Regions from separate parts of the Homo sapiens genome. Here all the other regions are linked to region 2. The links are contacts of gene promoters, found by promoter capture Hi-C in blood cells and fetal thymus (Javierre and others, 2016). All regions are on one chromosome and are shown on one strand. Each heading gives the region's core, a stretch centred on a gene start or on the middle of the fragment in contact. The rest is flanking DNA. Distances are from core to core; before and after follow the strand shown.

Region 1 (2,852 bases), core at 48-2,547, 440 kb before region 2:
TCTATACTAAAAATACAAAAATTATCTGGGCGTCGTGGTGCGTGCCTGTAGTCCCAGCTTCTCGGGAGGCAGGGGTGGGAGGATCTTTTGATCCCGGGAGGTGGAAGCTGCAGTGAGCCCAGATCGCACCACTGCACTCCAGCGAGACCTTATCTCAAAAATACGTACATGAATTTAAATATAAAAATCAAATGTAAATACATGTATATGTCGCACTGTAACAACTTATTGCTTCTTTTCAAGCAGTACCAAAAAGATACTGGTAAAAGTGGGATTCACAAAGTAGTGAGACCCTTTAAAAAGCAGGAGAGCGGCAGCGGACTGGTTTAGGTGAACACTGGTTAAATTTTCTTGTTTTTTAACGAGAGGTAAGAGCTGCTTATCCAGTTAACACTAGACCAATTGACTCCACCTGTGCCTCACTTTCTCCCACGTGGCCAGGGGAGAGTGGAGGGTAAGTCAGTGGCCGCTGACTGCCTGCTAAGCTTCAAGAAGGCAGTTTAGACTGAGCAATGAAAGAAAAATTGCGGGCGCAAAATAGAAACGGCATTTAAACAGAAGAAGCATTTGTTAGAATGAGTGGATCTTCTCAGATACTTTATCTCCTTGGGCCTGGGGGCCATCATGATCAGGTATCTGGTTATCTCCAGCTTTTTGGGGCTTGGGCGTTTCCAAAGTCCAGTTAAAGGTAAACATGATGCCGGGCGTGGTGGCTCCCGCCTATAATCCCAGCACTTTGGGAGGCCGAGGTGAGTAGATCACCCGAGGTCAGGAGTTCAAGACCAGCCTGGCCAACATGGTGAAACCCCATCTCTACTAAAAATACGAAAATAAGGCAGGCATGGTGGTGGGCACCTGTAATCCCAGCTACTTGGGAGGCTGAGGCAGGAAAATCGCTTGAACCTGGAAGGCGGAGTTTCCACTGCACTCCAGCCTGGGCGACAGAGCGAGACTTTTTCTCAAAAAGGTAAACATGATGCAATGGTAAATAGTCATGGGCTAATTAGAACAAACTACTCCTGTTCTCCCACACCCCTGGAGCTGGGTGAGTAGACCCAGGTGATACTGAGCTTGCTGATGTGGTTAAGAGACCTTGATTGTTTCATGGGGAGTGTAGGTGGGAAGGAGGTCAAAGGTTGTGAGTAATTAGGGTTTTTATTATCTCTTGGCTTATGAGACCAGGTCCTTTGAGAACTTAGTGCTCTGCCAGTCTCCAAAGTGGCTAATCTGACTTATGATGAAATGCCAAACACCCTTTTTGTTTTCCTGTTAAGTCTGTGTGTACAGATTCTATGTTTATTCCCTTATTTTACTTAGCAGGTGTGGGTTTGGTAATTTCTAACCATATTCTGCTTTGGCCCCTCTGGCCTTTCTAAATTAACTTGGTCCACCTCATAAATATATATCTATGAGAGAGAGACACACACACACAGACACAGACACAGAGTCTTGCCTCTGTTGCCCAGGCTGGAGTGCAGTGGCGAGATCTCTGCAACCGCCACCTCCTGGGTTTGGGTTCAAGTGATTCTCATGCCTCAGTCTTCCGAGTAGCTGGGACTACAGGCGCGCACCACCATGCCTGGCTAATTCTTGTATTTTTAGTAGAGATGGGGTTTCAGCATATTGGCCAGGCTGTTCTTGAACTCCTGACCTCAGATGATCCACCCACCTCGGTCTCCCAAAGTCCTGGGATTACAGGCATGAGCCACTGTGCTCTACCATAATTTTTTTTTTTTTTGTATTTTTAATAGAGACAGTTTCACCATGTTGGCCAGGCTGATTTCAAACTCCTGACCTCAAGTGATCTGCTCACCTTGGCCTCCCAAAGTGCTGGGATTACAGGTGTGAGCCAGAAACAACTAATTTCTTAACCTATCAGTAAAGTCTTGGTAACATTTCTAGCCTTTATTATTATGGTCTTCCCTCTTCCGGAGATGTTTTGACGGTGAAGGAAAAACGTTCTTCCTATAGATTAGATTCTTCCACTTGGTTAAAAAGCTGCCTCTGACCACAGTTTTTAAAATACAGCTAACTGCTGCTTATCCAGCATTTTCTTCATGAGTCATGGCTATAGTTTGCTGGTTTAAGCTGGTTTTAAAGGAGGGAGAGAGAAGCTTTTGTCTCCTAAAGAATAGGATTAAAGCGGGACCAGAATGAGCTCAGTAGTTACACAATCATTCAGAGAATGAATCAGAGCTGGAAAGGGGAATTTTGCCTTAGTTTAAGGAATCATATCTACTGTGGCTACAAAGCAACTGTCTGGTCTTGCCGAGTAGTTCATGAACACATCTTTGGTTTTCCAAGGCACTTTTGCTGAATTAGGTCTTCAAAGATTTTTGCTTTTGAAATTATAGTCCCTGAGCAGGAGTGGCCTGCTGAAAGATGGTTATCTTTTTTTGTTTGAGATGGAATATCTTGTCACTCAGGCTGGAGGGCAGTGGTGTGATCTCAGCTCACTGCAACCTCCACCTCCTGAGTTCAAGTGATTCTCCTCCCTCAGCCTCCCAAGTAGCTGGGACTACAGGTGTGCGCCATCATGCCTGGCTAATTTTTTTTGTATTTTTAGTAGAGATGCAGTTTTGCCATGTTGGCCAAGCAGATCTCAAACTCCTGACCTCAGGTGATCCACCTGCCTCAGCCTCCCAAAGTACTGGGATTACAGGTGTGAGTCACTGCGCCCAGCCAGTTATCTGTCTTGAAGGTTAATCAGTCATTAGGTGTGAATCATTCCTAAATGTCCCATCTGATGTATTATACCCTGACATTTTCCTTTCTTCCTCCCACAGCGTGAGTGCATCTCCATCCACGTTGGCCAGGCTGGTGTCCAGATTGGCAATGCCTGCTGGGAGCTC
Region 2 (2,992 bases), core at 413-2,912:
CCCTTTGGCCCTTCGCAGAGCTGGCGGGCAGAGAGGTGCCAGCGACACCACTTCCCCTTGGAACACTGTGGACCCTCTTTGAGCCAGCTCTGGTGCCAGTGGGCTGATGTCAGATTCTCTACCATCGGAGAGGCCAAGATCTCTAGACAGCTCCACTGTTGCCAACAGATCTAATCTCCTTATTCCAAGGCAGATGAAATCCAATAAGGCTGCTAAGTCCACAACTTATCCCTCCTGATGGGCAGAGGCAAAGGCAGAGTCGGCCATACCAACAATAACGCCAGAATTATTACTGCTTCTTAGAAAACTCTTTGGGGAAGTGAGAACTATTTCCCCAAATTTCTCAAAGATTAACCCCGGTTTACCAATGTTTTCGCTCTGCAAAACTTCATTTTCAGCGCAAACATATTTTCTGGCTCCTTCCCGGTGATACCAGCTCAGAACCTCTCGCTTCATAGAGCCACTGACATCAATGTCCAATTCCCACACCAAAGAAGAATCCCAAAGTCAGCTCTAAAAACCCATTTATACAGACCGTTTGAAACCCACAGAAAGACTAAAAAGCACAGGCTAAACAACACAAACCAGTCACTATGGCTTAACGTGAAAAGGGGGGGAGGAGGCGGGATGGTTTGTGTATTGTTTCACTTGGAGAAATACCCCAGTGAAATGGTTTATCCACATGTTCAGCCTTTCAGGCAAATCCACTCTAACTTAGCAGGATGCCTGCAGGCCGTTCTGAAAATAAGCAGAATGGCATACTCTTTATTCCACCCCCTTCAGGAGCTGCCAGCCGCCTCCCCATCCCCCTCTCCCCCCAAACATCTGGTCTGGGCTGGGAGTGGGACCCACTCCCTGGGAAGCCTCCATGTTCGCAGGAGAGGCGGTGTCCCCACTCAGGGAAGCCTGCTGAGGAGCGAGCCGGCCGCGCTTCTGAATTCCCCCCACCCGCGAGAGGCTCCGGGCTGAGAATGCTAGGGACGGGGAGCCTGGCGAAGAAGCGGGGAAACGGGAAAAGGGCAGCAGAAGGGGGAGGAAGAAGGAGGGAGAAGCCTGGTTCCTAGGACGGTCCCGAACTGGGGACTTCTCCTAAGGGTCCAGCGGTGGAGGCGTCGGTCCCGAGATCCCCGACGGGGCTGTCCGGGCCGGCCAGCGGCTGCTCAGAGGTTCCTGGGAAGACACTGGAGGCCGGGATCCGTTCGGGACCCCGACTGAAAGGGTGGGCGGGACGGGGGCCCAGCACAAAGTCCCAGCCCGGGCGTCGGGACCTGAGGGGCGGTACGCGGGGGAAGGGGCTGGGCTCAGCTCTCACCAGCACCAGGGCGAACCTTTCCTCCAGCTCACAGGGCTCAGGCATCGGCATCTTGCCGGGCGGCAGCAACAACGGGACAGAGGGGGGCTCTCCCGGGACCCCCTCGGCGCTCTCCAGGTTGCCCATCGCGGCGGGGCCCCCTCAGGGGCCTCGGCCCCCCACCTCCACGCTCCGGAGCTTTCGGCTCCGCGGCTCCGACCAGGCTCCTCCCTCAGCGCCGGCTCCCCGAGTCCCGACTCCTCGGCCCCGTCGAGGGCGCCGGGGGTTCCCTGGAGTCCCGCTGGCGGGGGCGCGCGGCGAGGGCGGAGGCAGCGTAGCGGACAGCCGCACCGAAGCAAGGCGGACGGAGGCGGCCGGCTCTTGCTCACACCCGCCGCCTCGCCGCGCTCGGCGCGCCGCCCGGGCGCTGCCCCTCCCCGCCCCCCGCGCTCTTTCCCTTCCCCCGCCAACCTCGCTTCCTCCCACCCACACCCGGCCGAGACTCGGGCTTCCCCCGCGAGCGCCGACTGCAGCCCGCGCGACGCGCGCCCCATTCATGCAGGCCCCGCCTCCCGCCCAGAGGCCTCACAGGCGGCCCGGCCCGCCCCACCTGCGCCCGATTGACGGCCGCGTCTGCCAATCACAGCGCCTCCCGCCCTTGACGGCCTCGTGCCGGGCGCCGAGCGCTCCCTGGCGGCCTCAGCCGGCATCGAATCACCGCGGTTCCCAGAGGGCGTGAGGGGCTGGCGTGGACACACCGGGAATGGACCGTACCCTTTTTCAAAAGGAACTCATGATGTATACAAGTAAGTAAAATATTATACAAGGCATGGCGTACAAAACTAACTACAAGAGAAGTAGAAACAAGCAGGATACTCAGAAGAGGGAGAGAGATAGTACCTGTTAAGAGTCGGGGTGAGGGAGATCATAGTTGGACCAGGCATTGAGGGATGAGGAAGCCCTTACCCGACAGAGGCAGGGGAAAAAACGTTTGGGAGGAGAGAAGCTTAACCATCTGGCTGCGTGTGAAAATGGAGAGGCGGGAGAAGAACGCTGTTCTGGGCTCAGTCGGCGGCTGGGTCGTTGACATTTGCGGTGGAAATTTGTTGTCTAGCCGCCATCTTCTTCCAGTGAGAGCACCCCCTTTTCTTTTAGGAAACCACCTCTCCCCTCTTCTCAGTCTAAATGGAGCTGAATTTTATCCCCAGTTCCAAAGGACCGCATGACCCAGGCCCAGTCAGTCACAACATTTTCCTCCTCTACCCATGGACACTGTTTTAGGGATTGTCACTTGACCCAAGCCCAGACAATATGATATATCCAAGGCTTTCTCTGAAACAATCAGGAAAGAGGCACTCACTCTCTCTCCATTTAGGCTGCAAAATTATTAGAATGTAAACCTGCAGCCGCTGGTGGCCGTCTTATCATCACCTGTAACACATCAAGCCTGCTTGAGAATGAAGCCAGCGCAGAGGAGAGAAAAGCTATGAGACAGGACAAAATTCTAATGACATGCCAAGAACCTGGATCTAACCATGCCTGAAGTTATCACCTAGATTTTTAATTCATTTATTCAACAAATATTTATTTTAGAAAGTTTATTCTATGCCAGATACTATTCTGGGCATTGAAGGTACATCTGCGAACAAACAGGATATACATTGTGTCCTCTTGGAATTCACAATCTGTGTAGAAGGAAAG
Region 3 (2,733 bases), core at 2-2,501, 370 kb before region 2:
TTGGGTCTTGGCTCCGTGTATCCCCCAACCCCCACCCTGACACTGTTAAGCATGATGCCCAACAGGTGCTCAACTGTTGGCTAAAGGATGGCCAAAGTTAGTTTCAGAGAACAACCGTCCAGATGGAGGAAGAGAGGGCAGAGAAAAAGGAAGGCAAAGGAAAACGAAGCGAGTCAAGGAAAATTTGCTTAAGGGACAAAAGGGAAGCCTGAAGCCGGCTGTTCTCCGACTGCAGCTGGGAAAACCGTCCCAGCCCAAGAACCTGCTCATGGTTTGCCTCCTTGCAGAGACTACCCTCCTGCCTCTGCCATCACGGCCAGGCCCAGGGCTCCCACTCATCAGCCAGTGCCTCTGGCACCAAAACTCAGTGCAACCTTAAGTTCAAAGTATCGCACCAGGGTCCACAGGGCTGAAGACAAGCTCCTGGCTTCTCAGAGAGTGGGTAAAGACTGCTTCCAAGGTGTCTGCCAGGTCAGAGCTGTTGCTGACTTACTTCGGCAGCCCTCCACCCCTGGCCAGGTGCTGCTCCTAGCCTTTGACTCCTCCACCTCCCTTTGTGCCCCCCTCTGCCTCCACCGCTTGCCAGCTCCAGCCTCCAGTTAATGAAATGTGGGGATCGGCTGCACAGAGAGCTGTCAGACCCCTCATTTCTCCTCTGGGATATTGACTCCGGGTCTGGGAGACCCACAGGTGAAAGGAGGCGGGTGGGGTGCGGGAAGTTGAGGTAGGGGCGCATACTGATGAGAGCCCCGAGACCAGGAGGTAGTGCTAAGCTCCAAGTCTCGAGGGCTCGGCTAAGCGAGGAAGGCCCTAGGATGCTCTTTCTGCTTGGGGTCCCCAGCTTTTCTCTGACGAGCAGGACACTTAACGAGCCCCAACCCACCGCACCCGGACCTGGACCCCGAACTAGCACCCCAGGCGGGCTGGACTTCAGTGAGCGCCGCGCGCAGCGCCTCGGAGCCAGAGACCGCTGCCCGGTGCTTCCTCCCATCTTCTTCCATCCCTTCCCTCTTGCTCCCCCTCCCTCCTGCACTCCCTCCCCGGCGGCCGCGGCCTTTATTAGGGATTCCGCGGCTGTCGGTCCCGCCATCCATCCTGTCCGCCGGCAATTAGGCGGCCAGACAAAGAGCAGCTTCGGATGGATGAGGGTCCCAGCGGATCGGAAATGTGAAGGGTCAGCGCTGCCGCCCGCGGCGCACCCCGCTCCCCCTTCCGCATAATCACCGGCCGCCCGTCACTCAGCCGGCCGCCCAGGGAGCTCCTGGGCCCGGCCCGGGAGAGGGCGGGGTGCGGCTGCAGCCTAGGCGCCCAGGACAGGGCGAGGGCGGACCTGCGGCAGGAGCGCCTCCTGCGGGGCAGTGGAGGACTGTGGCCTGAGGCATTGGCCGAAGGGTGGGGGATTATGGCCCCGGGCACTCCCCGAAGGGAAACTGGGGCTAGCGGCTTGGGGCCTCCCAGTGGGGAAGAGGGAACAAAAGCTGCGGAGACCGGAGGCCCGGGGTCCAGGGCGCCCCCTGCTGGGAAGCTGGGAACCAAGCCTTAGAGGTCCGGCAGGTACAGATGGAACCAGGCCCAGGGCGACCCCTCCTAGGGAAACCAAGGGTTTCTAGCCTGGCGCGCCTCCTGCCGGCTTTGAATGACACTGCGCTTCTATGCCCGCTCCGTTCAGTGAAATCCAACCAATCCGCATCCGCTCAAAAAAGGCTCCAAGTCCTGGCGAACCCGAGGGGAGCCGAGAGGGAGTTCAAGGAGTCCAGGTTTTACTGCAGATTCTTTGGCGCTAGCTCCCAGCTGACAAATCAACATCTCAATCTGACAATTAGTGGTCAAGATGCGGGGTGAGGGGCTCTTACAGCCCCGGCCGCTTAGCCCTCCCGGCGGGAGGCAGAGGGGTGGGCGGTGCTGGCAGTGATGAACGACTCCAGGGGGGCCCGTGGCCCCGAGCGCGCATTCATTACTCGACTGACAGGCGGGTGGCGGGCCGGGCGGGCTGCGAGTGGACGTGCCGGGAAAGAGGCCAGTAGCAGGAGGGGACTAAGGCAAGCGTTTAACAGTCCCACTGCTCCATCTGCTCCCGGTCCTTCGCCTTGACCCTGGGACTTGACTTCCTTGAGCTCGGCCTCCCAGTTGTTGGAGCTGGCCCTGGCTGGGAAGCAAGGGCGGGGACCTAAGCCCTCTTCTGGGGTTAGGTGATTTAAGGTCTGAGATGTCAAGGAAGGGTATTAGGCAGGTCTCAAGACTAGGCGATTCGGCCTGACCTCTGAGAGATTGTGCGTGACTGTGCACTCAGAGATGGCGTGTATGACAGGGATTGATGAATGTGGATCGCACGTGGGAGGTCAGTGACTGTGTGTGTCAGTACCAGGTATGTGTCAGTATGATTTTGTCAGTGGAGGTGTGAGATTCCCTCTGAGGATGAGCCACCACCCCTCCCTGTGTGTCCGTCTCCCCACTACCCCCCAGCTGGCTGTCAGCTCTGTCTCCAGTTATGGAGGAAATGGCAGTGCGCACGGTGACAGCTGAGGTGTGCTGCTGGGGTGGGGGGTGGGGGTGGTGCTAGATGTTAACTGTGAGAGTGCTGGTCAGGACAGCTGCTCCCTTCCAGCACCTTCACCACTAACATCCCTACCCCAAGGGTTTTGAAAGTAGTGGATTTTTTTTTTTTTTTTTTTTTTTTTTTTTTTTTTTTTTTTTTTTGGCCAAAGTTTGGACACCTAGTTGCTGTGCCCTGGG

Evidence for each region. Contacts are between HindIII fragments. The CHiCAGO score rates a contact against its expected background, and 5 or more counts as called.
Region 1: a fragment that was not itself captured here is called in contact with the fragment with the promoter of FMNL3 in region 2 in 1 of 17 cell types (endothelial precursors); the score reaches 6.9 in endothelial precursors.
Region 3: a fragment that was not itself captured here is called in contact with the fragment with the promoter of FMNL3 in region 2 in 2 of 17 cell types (neutrophils and endothelial precursors); the score reaches 5.4 in neutrophils.

Annotation. Positions count from the first base shown.
Region 1 is chr12:49,266,679-49,269,530 of GRCh38, forward strand. It overlaps TUBA1C (tubulin alpha 1c), which reads left to right. Exons shown (of 4, transcript NM_032704.5): 2 at 2,787-2,852. Among named protein-coding and RNA genes, the nearest start is that of TUBA1C, 3.0 kb to the left of the region's middle. The HindIII fragment of the contact is 1,629 bases long and covers 484-2,112 here.
Region 2 is chr12:49,705,743-49,708,734 of GRCh38, forward strand. It overlaps FMNL3 (formin like 3), which reads right to left and starts at 1,663. Exons shown (of 26, transcript NM_175736.5): 1 at 1,313-1,663. The coding sequence starts at 1,438. LOC124902929 (a long non-coding RNA gene) reads left to right here and starts at 1,984. Exons shown (of 3, transcript XR_007063299.1): 1 at 1,984-2,097. RefSeq lists a silencer at 1,307-2,076 and an enhancer at 2,097-2,246. The HindIII fragment of the contact is 3,771 bases long and covers 1-2,295 here.
Region 3 is chr12:49,341,085-49,343,817 of GRCh38, forward strand. No RefSeq gene overlaps it. Among named protein-coding and RNA genes, the nearest start is that of DNAJC22, 4.4 kb to the right of the region's middle. RefSeq lists a silencer at 1,145-1,284 and an enhancer at 1,486-1,997. The HindIII fragment of the contact is 8,852 bases long and covers 1-2,733 here.